2 separate regions of the Homo sapiens genome follow, and region 2 is linked to region 1. The links are contacts of gene promoters, found by promoter capture Hi-C in human tissues and cell types (Jung and others, 2019). All regions are on one chromosome and are shown on one strand. The core of a region is centred on a gene start or on the middle of the fragment in contact, and the rest is flanking DNA. Distances in the headings are between cores, read along the strand shown. Region 1 overlaps TPM4 (tropomyosin 4). Region 2 holds the start of CIB3 (calcium and integrin binding family member 3).

What was found. The method cuts DNA at HindIII sites, captures the fragments that hold promoters and counts their contacts. A contact is called where the count stands out against the background at its distance.
Region 2: the fragment with the promoter of CIB3 here is called in contact with a fragment that was not itself captured in region 1 in 4 of the 25 tissues and cell types used here (dorsolateral prefrontal cortex, lymphoblastoid cells, small bowel and 1 more).

What each region holds. Positions count from the first base shown.
Region 1 is chr19:16,083,489-16,090,727 of GRCh38, reverse strand. It overlaps TPM4 (tropomyosin 4), which reads right to left. Exons shown (of 8, transcript NM_003290.3): 3 at 4,188-4,305; 4 at 2,631-2,701; 5 at 1,608-1,683. Among named protein-coding and RNA genes, the nearest start is that of TPM4, 11 kb to the right of the region's middle. RefSeq lists an enhancer at 4,191-4,240. The HindIII fragment of the contact is 7,259 bases long and covers 1-6,401 here.
Region 2 is chr19:16,170,161-16,177,399 of GRCh38, reverse strand. It overlaps CIB3 (calcium and integrin binding family member 3), which reads left to right and starts at 3,875. Exons shown (of 6, transcript NM_054113.4): 1 at 3,875-3,975; 2 at 4,204-4,238. The coding sequence starts at 3,925. The HindIII fragment of the contact is 31,728 bases long and covers 1-7,239 here.

The DNA.
Region 1 (7,239 bases), core at 1,523-4,022:
ATCTAGCAAGGAAGGCATGCAATTAATGGAGTAACTATAATAAATGTAAGAAATCATAATGCCAGCAAAAGTATAGACAGGGCTACACAGCAGAGAAATACCTAACCTAGATGAGAAATCAGAGAAGGACTCTCAGAAGTGATGTTTAAGCAGAAGCTCAAAGGATGAACAGGAGGCCAGGCTCGGCGGCCTCCCAAAGTAATCCCAGCACTTTGGGAGGCCAAGGTGGGAGGATCACTTGAGGCCAGGAGTTCAAGACCAGCCTGGCCAACATGATGAAACCTTGTCTCTACCAAAAACTAGAAAAATTAGCCAGGCACGGTGGCCCACGCCTGTAATCCCAGCACTTTGGGAGGCTAAGGTGGGAGGATCACTTGAGGCCAGGAGTTTAAGACCAGCCTAGGCAACATAGACTGTGCTCTATAAAAAAAAAAAAAAAAATACAGTTTTGGAGTAGTGGCACATGCCTGCAAGTCCTAGCTACTCAGGAAGCTGAGGTGATAGGATTATTTAAGCCCAGGAGTTTGGGGCCTGCAGTGAGCTATGATCACGCCACTACACTTCCAGCCTAAGCAACAGAGCAAGATCTCATCTCTAGGCCAGGTGCAGTGGGTCATGCCTGTAATCCCAGCACTTTGGGAGGGCGAGGCGGGCAGATCACTTGAGATCAGGAGTTCGAGACCAGCCTGGCCAATGTGGTGAAACCTCATCTCTACCAAAAATTATAAAAATTAGCGTGTAATCGGGAGGCTGAGGTGGGAGAATTGCTTGAACTTGGGAGTCGAAGGCTGCAGTAAGCTGAGATCACGCCACTTCACTCCAGCCTGGGTGACAGAGTGAGACCCTGTCTCAAAAAAAAAGAAAAGAAAAAAAAAGGCTGAATAGGGGTTTATCAAGCAAAAGGAAAGCCACACCCAGTTGAGTGAATAGCAGGTGGTGGCTGAGGTGGGAGGATCGCTTGAGCCTGGGAGTTCAAGGCTGCAATGAACTATGATCATGCCACTGAATTCCAGCCTGGGCAACAGAGCGAAGCTCTGTCTCAAAAAAAAAAAAAAAAAAGTGGGGGGTGGAGGTGATGGGAGAACAAAGAATGTCTGTGAAACTGCAAAAGCAGGAGCAAGAATGAGGAAGAGGCTGGGAAATTCAGTGGGGTTCGGCCGTGGAAGTGTGTCCTTTGTTCCCGACGTAGCTGCCACGTAGCAACTGCTTTGGGTGCTGTTTCAAACTAAAAAGCCCAATTCCACCTCTGATCATTGCTATACCTTTGAGATGGTATTTCTGGAGGAACCAGGGGAATCAGGTGAGAGGCAGGCTCTGTATTTATTTATACAACTATGCTCAGATCTCGCTAAGAAGAGCCTCATGTTCTATCTCTATCCTCCTGAGATGGAGATCAAAGATGGTGCTCAGACCCCATGGAAGAGGACTCAAGAGTGTGCAGGAGAAATCCAGCTCTTTCTGTAGGGGAAAAACCCTGGCTGCCAGGCACCAACGCTACTGTTAAATAAAGGGCAGATTCCCCATAACCTGACAGGCTCCTGCATCCCTCGGGAGAAGAAAAGAACAAAGTCCAGCAAGCCACCCTCCAGCTCAAGCCAACCACCTACCTTTTCAGATGCAGCCTCCAGAGATTTCAGATTGTTAGTAACATTCTTGAGTTCTTCTTCCAGGTCACCACATTTTCTGCACAAAGACAAAGGATTTTTGTGTCTTATCTTCCCTTACAGCCGGCAATAATAGCAATCGCCCCAACAATAAATTTTCCAAAGGAGAAACCTACACAGCTCCCCCGGTGGGGGGCAGAAGGAATGTGGGGAGAAAATGTTAATGGATTTTTCTGCAGTGTGATACTATGGGCTTATCAAAGGCTTATCATACCAGGCAGAGGCGAGGTGCGCCCGAAGAGTATTTGGAGGGCTTGGAAAACACTCCTGGTCTTTTGCCAAGGGTAAGGCTGCAAGGACTTGTGAAATCTATGATTGATGAGGCCGACTCCGGAAGGTGTAAGAATGGGACTGAGGGCAGAAGGCGGGCAGAGAGCAATGGGAGTTTGCAGGGGACACTCCGGGAAGGAAGCCCGGAGTGGATTTGTGAAACCAGATCTCTCTCAGCACTCCCGGATGCTCTGTGGGGCTGAATTCCTCACCCGGGGCCAAGAGGACAGGTGTTTTGTTTTTCGGTGCTTGCTTGTGGGATTCTGGTTAAGCTTCTCACCTTCCCGCCAGGAATGTGTCACGGCCAAACACTGACAGGAGCAAAAGCATTTACATACTGACCGGGGGAGCCTGCCTTCTGGAGCAGGTCAGTGTTCTGTTAAGATGGCACAGCCCCCTGAGATATCCTCTCTGGGAAAATGGGACTTCTGGGCTTCCCTGCTGCCTCCTGTCTCACTCCTATTTCCTCATATCTTTGCAGAAAGGGTCAACACGTGGGCAGTGCTTCCCATGGCAGTAAGAACAAGTCACCACCTCTTTGTCACAGAAGCCAAGAGAAAAGATGAGCCATGAGCCCCTGACGCCCGTCCACTTGAGCAGAGACCCCGGTCAGAGCCAATTCCCAACACAGCCAGCTCCTTCCCACTCCGCCCCAGGAATCGAGCCAGCCTCGCTCAGTCCTGTTCTGCCACTCACAGTTCAGACACCTCCGCACGCTCCTCTGCCCTCTCCAGCTCACCCTCCAGGATGACCAGCTTACGAGCTACCTGCAGAGACAGAAAGGCCCAGCTGAGCCCGATCCCCACCAGCCGTGTCCTCTCCCATCCACTGCAGACAGCCCCCAATGATGCCCCACCCAGACCCCTAGACCAGCTGCAACATGGGTTTTTCTGGTGTTTCTTTTTTTTGCAGGGGGACGGAGTCTCCCTCTGTTGCCCAGGCTGGAGTGCAGTGGCACAGTCTCGGCTCACTGCAACCTCCACCTCCTGGGTTCAAGCGATTCTCCTGCCTCAGCCTTCCAAGTAGCTGGGACTACAGGCGCGTGCCACCACGCCCAGCTAATTTTTGTATTTTCAGTCGAGATGGGGTTTCACCGTAGTGGCCAGGCTGGTCTCGAATTCCTGACCTCCTGATCCACCTACCTCGGCCTCCCAGAGTGCTGGGATTATAGGCATGAGCCACCACACCTGGCCTCTTTTTTATTTTTTTATTCTTTTGAGACAGAGTCTCGCTCCATCACCCAGGCTGAAATGCAGTGGCTCAACCTTGACTCACTGCAACCTCTGCCTCCTGGGTTCAAGTGAATCTCCTGTCTCAGCCTTCCAAATAGCTGGGCTTACAGGCATGCACGACCATGCCCGGCTAATTTTTGTATTTTTTGTAGAGACAGGGTTTCACCACGTTGGCCAGGCTGGTCATGAACTCCTGACCTCAGGTGATCTGCCTGCCTTGGCCTCCCAAAGTGCTGGGATTACCGGCGTGAGCCACCATGCCCAGCCCTTTTATGTTTTTGACAGAGGGTCTTGCTCTGTCTCCAAGGCTGGAGTGCAGTGGCGTGGTCAGAGCTCACTGCAGCCTTGACTTCCCAGGTTCAAGCGATCCTCCTGCCTCAGCCTCCCAAGTAGCTGGGACTACAGGTGCATGCCACCACACCCAGCTAATTATTATTATTATTATTTTTAGAAATGGGGTCTCACTATGTTGCCCAGGCTGGTCTCAAACTCCTGGCCTCAGGTGATCCTCCCGCCTCGGTCGAAGTGCTGGGGTTACAGGTACGAGCCACCGCGCCTGGCCTTTTGCTGGCGCTTCAACTGAAAGAGCCATCCTGGGGCCTGGAGGAAATCCTGATTCTCTTCCTCAAGCCTGAGGAGCGAGGCAGACAAGAGGCGGGAGGGAAGAGCCGAGCCATCGAGGGAGGCAAAGGAGGGCCTGAGCTTGCATGGTCTGAAACTCCATGGCTTGGGACCACAATCCTCCATTTTTGCCCAACTGTGCCAAAACTCCCAGCTAACGACACAAGTGAGCTGATCATTCGGTTTTCCCATTACGTTAGACAAGCGTCCGCAGCACTTTCTGGCATCGTGGGAGATAGTTTCCTAGCCAAGTGGTTGTCTCTGGACAAACATATGTTCACGCAGGAGGACAGCTGACCTAACCGAGAGCTTCCTTTCGTTGGCCCCGGTGTCCTCCCTATCTCAGCAGATGCATTTCCTCCCACTTCCTGCTGCTGCGCCATCTGCCAGCCCCACTCACCTCCTCGTATTTGCGGTCAGCCTCTTCCGCAATGTGCTTGGCCTCTTTGAGCTGCATCTCCTGAATCTCCATCTTCTCCTCATCCTTCATGGCCCGGTTTTCTATCACCTTCATTCCTCTGCAAGGAGCAATCTCATCAGGACGGCCGTTCACTCACACCCCTCCACCCACCTCTCATCTATCTTTTCTTTCAGATGGAGTCTCGCTCTGTCATCCAGGCTGGAGTGCAGTGGCACGATCTCAGCTCACTGCAACCTCCACCTCCCGGGTTCAAGCGATTCTCCTGCCTCAGCCTCCTGAGTAGCTGGAATTACAGGCACCCGTCACCATGTCTGGCTAATTGCGTGAGACACCACCCCTAGTCCCATCTCTCATCTAAATGAGTCTCTGAATCTACTGAGCACTGTAACACACTGCAAAGATGGAACTCTGTGCACACATTTCCTTCATCTTGGTTTTTTTTTTTTTTTTTGAGATGGAGTCTCGCTCTGTCACCCAGGCTGGAGTGCAGTAGTGTGATCTCAGCTCACTGCAGCCTCCATCTCCTGGGTTCAAGCAATTCTCCTGTCTCAGCCTCCAGCATAGCCGGGACTATAGGCATGCACCACCGTGACCGGCTAACTTTTATATTTTTAGTAGAGAGGGGGTTTCGCCATGTTGGCCAGGCTGGTCTGGAACTCCTGACCTCAAGTGATCTGCCCGCCTTGACCTCCCAGAGTGCTGGGATTACAGGTGTGAGCCACCGCGCCCAGCCTCCCTTCATCTTTACTACCAGGCACTTTTCTAAGTGCCTTCACTTTCACAACTGCCCTATGGAGCAGGTAAATTATCCACATTTTACAAATGAAGAAACTAAGGCATAGAGAGAGGGTAAGTAACTTAAGGTTACAGAGCTGGTAAGTGGTAGAGCTGAGGCTCAGCCCTTGGCAGTCTGACTCCAGAGTCTGTGCCCCCTTTCTTTTTCTTTTATTTTGAGAGATGGTGTCTCACTCTGTTGCCCAGGTTGGAGTGCAGTGGTGCCCTGAGAGCTCACGGCAGCCTTGTCCTCTCAGGCTCAAGCAATCCTGTTGCCTCGGCCTCCTGAGTAGCTGGGACTATAGGTGTGCACCACTGCACCCAGCTAAACTAAAAAAAAATTTTTTGTGGAGGTGGGGGTTTTGCAATGTTGCTGAGGTAGGAGGATCGCTTGAGCCCAGGAGTTCAAGGCTGCGGTGAGTCGTGATTGCACCACTGCTCTCCAGCCTGGGTGACAGAGCAAGACGTTGTGTATTTATTTATTTTTTTTCTTGAGACAGGTTCTCACTCTGTTGCCCAGGCTGGAGTGTAGTGGTGTAATCATAGCTCACTGCAACCTTGCCTTCCTGGGATCAGGTGATTCTCCCACCTCAGTCCCTTGAGTGGCTGGGACTACCAGCATGCACTACCATGCCTGGCTAATTTTTAATATTTTTTTGTAGAGATGGGGTCTCACTATGTTGCGCAGGCTGGTCTCAAACTCCTGGGCTCAAGCGATCCGCCCGCCTCCCAAAGGGCTGGGATTACAGGTGTGAGCCACCGCACCCTGCCAAGACCTTGTGTATTTAAAACAAGAAAAGAAAAGAAAAGAAGAGGCCAGCCTGGGATAATGTGTCATTGATATGTATCATTCCCACCCAGCACAGAGACCATATGCTTCTTGCTGTCCAATAAATATGTTCACGTGGGGTGTCACCCGTTCTCAGCTAAGTCTCAAAACACCCTCCCCCACCTGTACGAGGTCTCACCCTCAGCATGTGAGCAAGCTCTCTGGGTTATTTATTGCCCCAAAACCCCTTGTAGTACCCAAGAGATCAAAGTGACTTGCCTAAGGCTCCATAGAAAGTGCCAGTGGTAGAAGCTGACTCTAGATCCCCAAGCTTCAAGTATATAATTCTTTCTACTGAGACACAGCAGTCTTTAACAGGGGTGTCACCAAAGGCCTCTGGGGACATGGTGCAAACAAGAGACTGGCCTTCGCAGCCTCCCTTGGTTTGCCAATATGGGAGCCCTCAACGTCAGCATCCAGCCAGGCTGGTCTGACTGTGAACAGCAGCTAACCCAGGCCACAGGCACAGCCAGGAACTCTCGTGACTGGGTCCTTCCACTGCCCCGTGGCTGCCGGAGCTGCCACTCTCTCCCTTGATTCAGTGGCTGAAGCAGAGTCTGCAGTAGCGTCTGTTCCCTCTGCCCTGGCTGTTCCACTACTTGGGAAGAAATTTCCAGCTTGGGTGACATGCAATCTCCAAGATTCCTTAGCTGGTTTCTAATCTCTGGTTAGTGGTCACAGCAGCACAACCAGAAATGCATCTTAAATTAGCTAGGCGTGCCAGCACTTTGGGAGGCCAAGGCAGGTGGATTACAAGGTCAGGAGCTTGAGAACATCGTGGCTAACACGGTGAAACCCTGTCTCTACTAAAAATACAAAAAAATTAGCCGGGTGTGGTGGCGGGTGCCTGTAGTCCCAGCTACTTGGGAGGCTGAGGCAGGAGAATGTCGTGAACCCAGGAGGTGAAGCTTGTAGTGAGCTGAGATCACGCCAGTGCACTCCAGCCTGGGCGACAGAGCGAGACTCTGTCTCAAAAAAAAATTAGCTGGGCATGATGGCATGCGCCTGTAGTCCCAGCTTTACTCTGGAACTCTGGAGGCCGTGGCGGGAGGATCGCTTGAGCCCAGGAGGTCGAGGCTGCAGTGAGCTGTGATCGCACCACTACATTCCAGCCTGGGTGATAGAGTAAGACCCTGTCTCAAAAAAAAAAAAAAAAAAAGAAATGAATCTTTGGGAGGTGTTTATACTGCAAAAGCATGGTGGCTGGCTCAAGTGAGAACTCCGGTGTGAATGAGGGGCAGACGCGATGATCACTGGTCGGGCCCACACCATTGCCACACAAGGAACTCCTTTTCCACCACACACAGACTGCTGCTTCTGTGAATTACACAATCTACCCTCAGTCTTCCAGAGAGCCTGTGCCAAGGCGTGCCAGAGAATGATCTGGCTACCGAGGAGAAGGCACCCTACTGGTGGCTGGGTTGCAGC
Region 2 (7,239 bases), core at 2,626-5,125, 86 kb before region 1:
TGGGTTGTCTTTCTAGTTTTGAGATGTAAGAGTTCTTAGTTTTTATCGTGGGTTTTGTTTTTTGGTTTTTTTCGAGATAGAGTCTCGCTCTTGTTGCCCAGGCTGGAGTGCAGTGGCACGATCTCAGCTCACTGCAACCTCCCCCTCCCAGGTTCAAGCGATTTTCCTGTCTCAGCCTCCCGAGTAGCTGGGATTACAGGCGCCCACCACCACACCTGGCTAATTTTTTGTATTTTTAGTAGAGACAGGGTTTCACTATGTTGGCCAGGCTGGTCTCTAACTCCTGACCTCAGGTGATCCACCCACCTCATTCTCCCAAAGTGCTGGGATTACAGGCGTGCGCCCGGCCCTGAGAGTTCTTTATATATTCTGAATAGTAGTTCCTTATGAGATATATGATTCACAAATACAGTTAGCCCTTCATATCCAGTTTCCTTATCCATGGATTCAATAAACCACGGAGTGAAAATACCTGGAACCAATAAAATAAAAATAATACAACAATAAAAAGAATACAAATAAAAATGTGTAACAATTATTTATGTAGCATTTATATTTCATTAGATATTATACATAATTTAGAGATAATTTAAAGTCTATGGAGGGCCGGGCATGGTGGCCCATGTAATCCCAGCATTTTGAGAGGCCAAGGTGGGCCGGATCACTTGAGGTCAGGAGTTTGTGACCAGCCTGGCCAACATGGCAAAACCCCGTCTCTACTAAAAATATAAAAATTAGCTGGACACAGTGGTGTGCACCTGTAATCCCAGCTACTAGGGAGGCTGAGGCAGGAGAATTGCTTGAACCTAGGAGGCAGAGGTTGCAGTGGGCTGAGATTACGCCACTGCACTCCAGCCTGGGTGACAGAGCCAGACTCCAACTCGAAAAAGTAAAATAAAAATAAATAAATAAATAAATAAAGTGTATGGAAGATGTGCACAGGCTATATGCAAATATTATGCCATTTTATATAAATGACTTGAGCACTGAGCATTTGTCCCATTCTGTGGGCATGACAGGTTTTTGTGTGAACCTAGTTTAAATTTTTTTTTTACACTATACTTTATTTTTTTAGAGCAGTCTTAGTTTCACAGCAAAATTGATCAGAAGGTACAGAGATTTCCCGTACACCTGCTGCTTTCATACTTGTATAGCTTCCCCTACAATCAACATCCTCCACATGCAAGTGCATGACAGTAGCTAGTCTGTTACAATTGATGAACTGACACTGATACATCATTATCACCCACAGTGGTTAGTGGATAGTTTACATTAGGGGTCACTCTCAGTTGAACATAGGTTTTTATTTCCCTTGGGTAAACACCCAGGAGTCTTTTTTTTTTTTTTTTTTTGAGACAGGATCTCACTCTGTCTCCCAGGCTGGAGTGCAGTACAGTGGAGTGATCATAGCTCACTTCATCCTCGACCTCCCTACCTCAAGCAAACCTCCCAAGTAGCTGGATACCACCAAACCTGGCTAATTTTTGTATTTTTGTAGAGATGGGGCTTCACCATGTTGCCTAGGCTGGTCTCCAACTCCTGGGCTAAAGTGGTCCTCTTGCCTTGGCCTCCCAAAGTGCTGGGATTACAGGCATGAGCCACCATACCAGGCCCTGAATCTTGTGGTAAGGTTAAGTTTAATTCTATTTAAAAAAAACCCAGCCAACCTATTTTCCAGAGTGTCTATACCATTTTGCATCAACACCAGCAATGTATGAGCATTCCAGTTGCTCCATACCCTCACCAACACTTGATATTGTTTATTTTTTGAAAGTTATTCTTGGATGGCTGGGCATGGTGGTTCATGCCTGTAATCCCAGCACTTTGGGAGGCTAAGGTGGGTAGATCACTTGAGGCCAGGTGTTCAAGACCAGCCTGGGCAACATAGACAGACCCTGTCTCCACAAAAAATACAAAAAAAAAAAAATTAGCCGGATGTGGCAGCATGTGCCTCTAGTGCCAGCTACCTGGGAGGCTGAGGAAGGAGGGTCGCTGCAGTGAGCCATGATTGTATCACTGCTCTCCAGCCTGGGTGACAGAGTGAGACCCTGTCTCAAAAAAAAAAAAAAGTCATCCTTGAGGCATCTTTCAAGCCTGATCAGGGTCACATTTTACAAGATGACTGCACAGATTTGGCAGAGGATGCTTGATGAGGCCGAGGCAGGAAAGCCTGCTGGGAAACATTGCAATAGTCCAGGCCAGGTAGAGAAAACACAGGTGAGACCCAAAGTGAGAAGGGCATGGAGGGCCAGGCTAAGAAATTTAGACTCTCAGATTCTCCACCCAAGAGGATTCTGGGCCTTAATAAAGTTGGTAGCTGCTACATTAGATCTGCCCTTTGGGCCGGGCGAGGTGGCTCACACATGTAATTCCAGCACTTTGGGAGGCCGAGGCGGGTGGATCACCTGAGGTCAGGAGTTCGAGACCAGCCTGGCCAACATAGTGAAACTCTGTCTCTACTAAAAATACAAAACTTAGCCAGGCGTGGTGGTGGGCGCCTGTAATAATCCCAGCTACTCGGGAGGCTGAGGCAGGAGAATGGCCTGAACTCGGGAGGTGGAGCTTGCAGTGAGCCGAGATCACGCCACTGCACCCTAGACTGGGTGACAGAGCGAGACTCCGTCTCAAAAAAAAAAAATACAAAAAAAATTAGCTTGGCATGGTGGACACCTGTGGTCCCAGCTACCTGGGATGCTGAGGCAGGAGAATCACTTGAACCTGGGAGGCAGAGATTGCAGTGAACCGAGATCACACCACTGCACTCCAGCCTGGGCAACAGAGTGAGACTGTCTCAAAAAAATAAAATGTAATAAAATAATAATGTCAATGCACACCCCAGAACTTCATCTAGCTTGTTCACCATTATGTTCCCAATGCAGTGATGCAATCATGGCTCACTGCAGCCTCAAACTCCTGGGCTCAAGCAATCCTCCCACCTCAGCCTCCTGAGTAGCTGGGACCACAGGCATGCACCACCACATCCAGCTAATTTTTGTATTTTTAGTAGAGATAGGGCCTTGCCATGCTGCCCAAGCTGATCTTGAACTCCTGGCCTCAAGTGAATCTCATGCTTTGTCCTCCTAAAGTGCTGGGATTACAGGTATGAGCCACCTCGCCCAGCCAAAACCTTTTTTTTTTTTTTGGAGATGGAGTCTTACTCTGTCACCCAGTCTGGAGTGCAATGGCGGGATCTCGGCTCACTGCAACCTCCACCTCCTGGGTTCAAGCAATTCTCCTGCCTCAGTCTCTGGAGTAGCTGGGATTACAGGCATGTGTCACAATGCCAAGCTAATTTTTGTATTTTTAGTAGAGATGGGGTTTTGCCGTGTTGGCCAGGCTGGTCTTGAACTCCTGACCTCAGGTGATCCGCCTGCCTGGCCCTCCCAAAGTGCTGGGATTACAGGTGTGAGCCACCTTGCCCAGTCAAAACCTTTTTTTTTTTTTTTTAAATCTCAGATCCTGAGAATGACCCTATGAGGTAGGTATAATGTAATTTTCATCTCATGAATGAGGTTCAGAGAAGTCAGGTGACTTGCCCAGGGCCACACAGCTAGTGGGCAGAGAGCTGGGATTTGAGCTGCAGTGTGCCCATAGCCCTTCTGTATACCCTGCCTGTCTCTTGAGTGTGCCCCATAACCCCAGCCTCACCTTGTGGTGGCAGATGTGGCCTCCCCACTGAGGTCTTCTCTGTGACATCCCACAGCCCTTATCCTTACCCATGGACACATTCAGGCTGTTGTCCAGAGAGCCTGGCTGTAATTTGAGTCTCATCAAGCAGGGGGTGATGGCGTAGGTGGGTGGGTGACAGCCAGGGCAGGGAGATTTGCCCAGACACTGGTACACAACAGCCTGGCAACCCGTGTGGCCCCGAGGAAGCTGGGAGCCTTTGGGGTGCATCCCCAAGTCTGGGCTGTGGTTCACACCATGGGCAACAAGCAGACAGTCTTCACACACGAGCAGCTGGAAGCGTATCAGGTAGAGGGGGGCAGGATGGGTCCTCAGTGGGTTTGACAACTTTGGTTCCGTGGTCTGGGAAATGGGAACAGAATGCCTTCATCTGGGTGTACCGTCCGCCTGGGTTCCTGGTTCTGCTCTGTGTGTGGCAGCATCAGGCCATCTGTGTGAGTGTGGGGTGGAGGGAGGAGGCCGTGGGAGGAGGCCCCAGAGGCAGGGTTCGGGTTAAGACAACACCTCTCTCCACAGGACTGCACATTTTTCACAAGGAAGGAGATCATGAGGTCAGTCCAGGGAGGAAGGGAGAGAAGATCTGGAAAAACAACTTTCTATTCATTGCTGGAGGATATTTGCAATTTGGTGTGTGTGTGTGTGTGTGTGTGTGTGTGTGTGTGTGTGTGTGTAAGTAGTCTTTCTTTCTTTCTTTCTCTTTTCTCTCTCTCTCTCCCTCCCTCCCTCCCTTCCTTCCTTCCTTCCTTCTTTTCTTTTTTTTTGAGACAGGGTCTGTCTCTATTGCCTGGGCTGGAGTGCAGTGGTGCAATCATGGCTCATTGCAGGCTCGATCTCCCAAGGTCAGGTGATCCTCCCACCTCAGCCTCTCGAGTAGCTAGGACCACTGGTGCGAGCCACCACATGTACCTCATTTTTGTATTTTTTTATAGAGATGGGGCTCTCACTATGTTGCCCAGGCTGGTCTTAAACCCTTGGGCTCAAGCGATCCCCCTGCCTCAGCCTCCCAAAGTGCTGGGATTACAGGTGTGAGCCACCATGCCCAACTGGTATTTCCAATTTGTTGGGACTCAAATGGGGAAGGGGGGCAGGTGTGGTCAGTGGACAGAGGCAGAGATGGAGAAGCTGACAAGTCACATCTTGTCATACTGTCCCAGTCTCTAGGCTGATGAGCTTGGGCTTTCTCCCAAGGGTGGCAGGGAGCTATGGAGCATGCATGAGCAGGGGAGAGACCATCAGCACGTTAGAAAGATTCTCCTGAGGCTGGGCGCGGTGGCTCATGCCTGTAATCCCAGCACTTTGGGAGGACAAGGTGGGTGGATCACCTGAGGTCAGGAGTTTAAGATCAGCCTGGCCAACATGGTGAAACCCCATCTCTGCTAATAATACAAAAATCAGCTGGGCGAGGTGGTGGGTGCCTGTAATCCCAGCTACTCAAGAGGCTGAGGCAGGAGAATTGCTTGAACCTGGGAGGTGGAGGTTGCAGTGAGCCGAGATCACGCCACTGTGCTCCAGCCTGGGTGACAGAGCTAGACTCTGCCTCAGAAAAACAAAATGAAAGATAAAGATTCTCCTGAGACTGGGACTTGAGGCTGGGAGCCCAGGTGCAAAGTCCAGAGCCCAGTCTGGGTTGTGGGCTTGGCATTAAGATGAGGGTGTGAGGAGGTGGCCCAAGGCTGCTGCAGGTCCCTGGCGTGACCCAGCACGATGGGCACAGATGAGTATCCCACATCATCACTCGGCCTGTGGGGCCATTGCCCAGGGGCCCCGACCCATGAACTTGGAGCTATGAAACCCAAGCTGGCCAGGGTTCAGCTGCAGTGTGATCGGGGCCAAGGCCCCAGTTGTGTAGTAACAGGACATCCATTATTGATGGCCACACCTTTTACTAGTGAGCCCCATTGTTTGGGTGAGGACAGCTTGCAGGGTCACCTCGGCCATCACGATCAAATTACTGATGGGGAAACTGAGGCTCAGACAGGGCGGGGCTGATCCCAGGCTGAAGGGTAAATGCACAGAGCCCCAAGGCCCCAAGGACAGACATTTTGTCTGTCCCAAGCTTCTTGCTTATCAGATAGAATAACCAAGGCACAGAGAGGGAGAGGAGAGGAACATGCTCAGAGCCACACAGAAACCTAAACCCAGGGTATTCCCTGATGGGACCCCGACAGGGAACTGAGTGGTCAGGATGAAAGTTCTAGGTCTCCCCACCCCACCTTCATTGAGTTCCTAGTCATCATATGACCTAGGGACTCATGTCTCTCTCAGAGACAGTCCCTAGCAGCTTGGGGACCTCAGACCCACCAAGGATGGTCTCTGCAAGGCTGCTGCTCAGCATGCCCTAATGAAGGTATGGTGTCACAGGTGAGGGCTTCTGAGTGGAGAACTGGCCTTATAATCTGGATAGTGTGTGTGGTATTCAGTTATTTGCAAAATATCTTTTGTCTGCCCTTTAGAAAAAATGTGACTATTAGCTGTTTGTCTCTGCTCTGCCCCATTGAGGAATCCCTCCTTTTTTTTCTTTCTTTCTTCTTTTCTTTCTTTCTTTTTTATTTTTTATTTATTTATTTTTTTTATTGAGACCGAGTCTCATTCTGTTGCCCAGGCTGGAGTGCACTGGCTTGATCTCGGTTCACTGCATGCTGCGCCTCCCGGGTTCACACCATTGTCCTGCCTCAGCCTCCGGAGTAGCTGGGACTACAGGCGCCCACCACCACGCCTGGCTAAATTTTTATATTTTTAGTGGAGACGGGGTTTCACCATGTTAGCCAGGATGGTCTTGATCTCCTGTCCTCGTGATCCACCTGCCTCGGCCTCTCAAAGTGCTGGAATTACAGGCGTGAGCCACCGCGCCCGGCCTCTTTCTTTCTTTTTTCTTTTCTTTTTTTTTTTTGAGACAGAGTCTCGTTCTTGTTGCCCAGGCTGGAGTGCAGTGACACGATCTCAGCTCACTGCAACCTCCAGCTCCCAGGTTCAAGTGATTCTCCTGCCTCGGCCTCCCGAGTAGTTGGGATTACAGGTGCCCGTCACCACGCCCAGCTAATTTTTTGTATTTTCAGTAGAGATGGGGTTTCACCATGTTGGCCAGGCTAGTCTCGAACTCCTGACCTCTGGTGATCCACCCGCCTCGGCCTCCCAAAGTACTGGGATTACAGGCATGAGCCGCTGCATCCGGCCTCTTCCTCCCATTATAAGGAGAGGAAGGGAAGGTATGAAAGTGAAGGTATCTTTGGAGGCAGGGTCTTGCTGATAACATGACAATATCCAGAGATGTGTGGATTATATAGGATTCTCTGAATGCTTGCTGTGATCTGGCCATAAGCACCCTCCCTTCTCCCAACTCCATCTGCTTTAGAAGCTCCTACTCATGCTTCAAAGCCCAGAACCAATGTCCCCTCTTCCAGGAACCCCCTTCTCCTCGCTAGCTTGCTTCCCCCAGTCCAGTCTCCCTTTGTCCTGTGGCCCTCTCTGCACCTTGACCCTGCCCCCAGGGAGGTTAGGGGTGCCTGTGTCAGGCTCTGTATGCTTGAGGTCCAGGCCCAGGGCTGAGTGTTC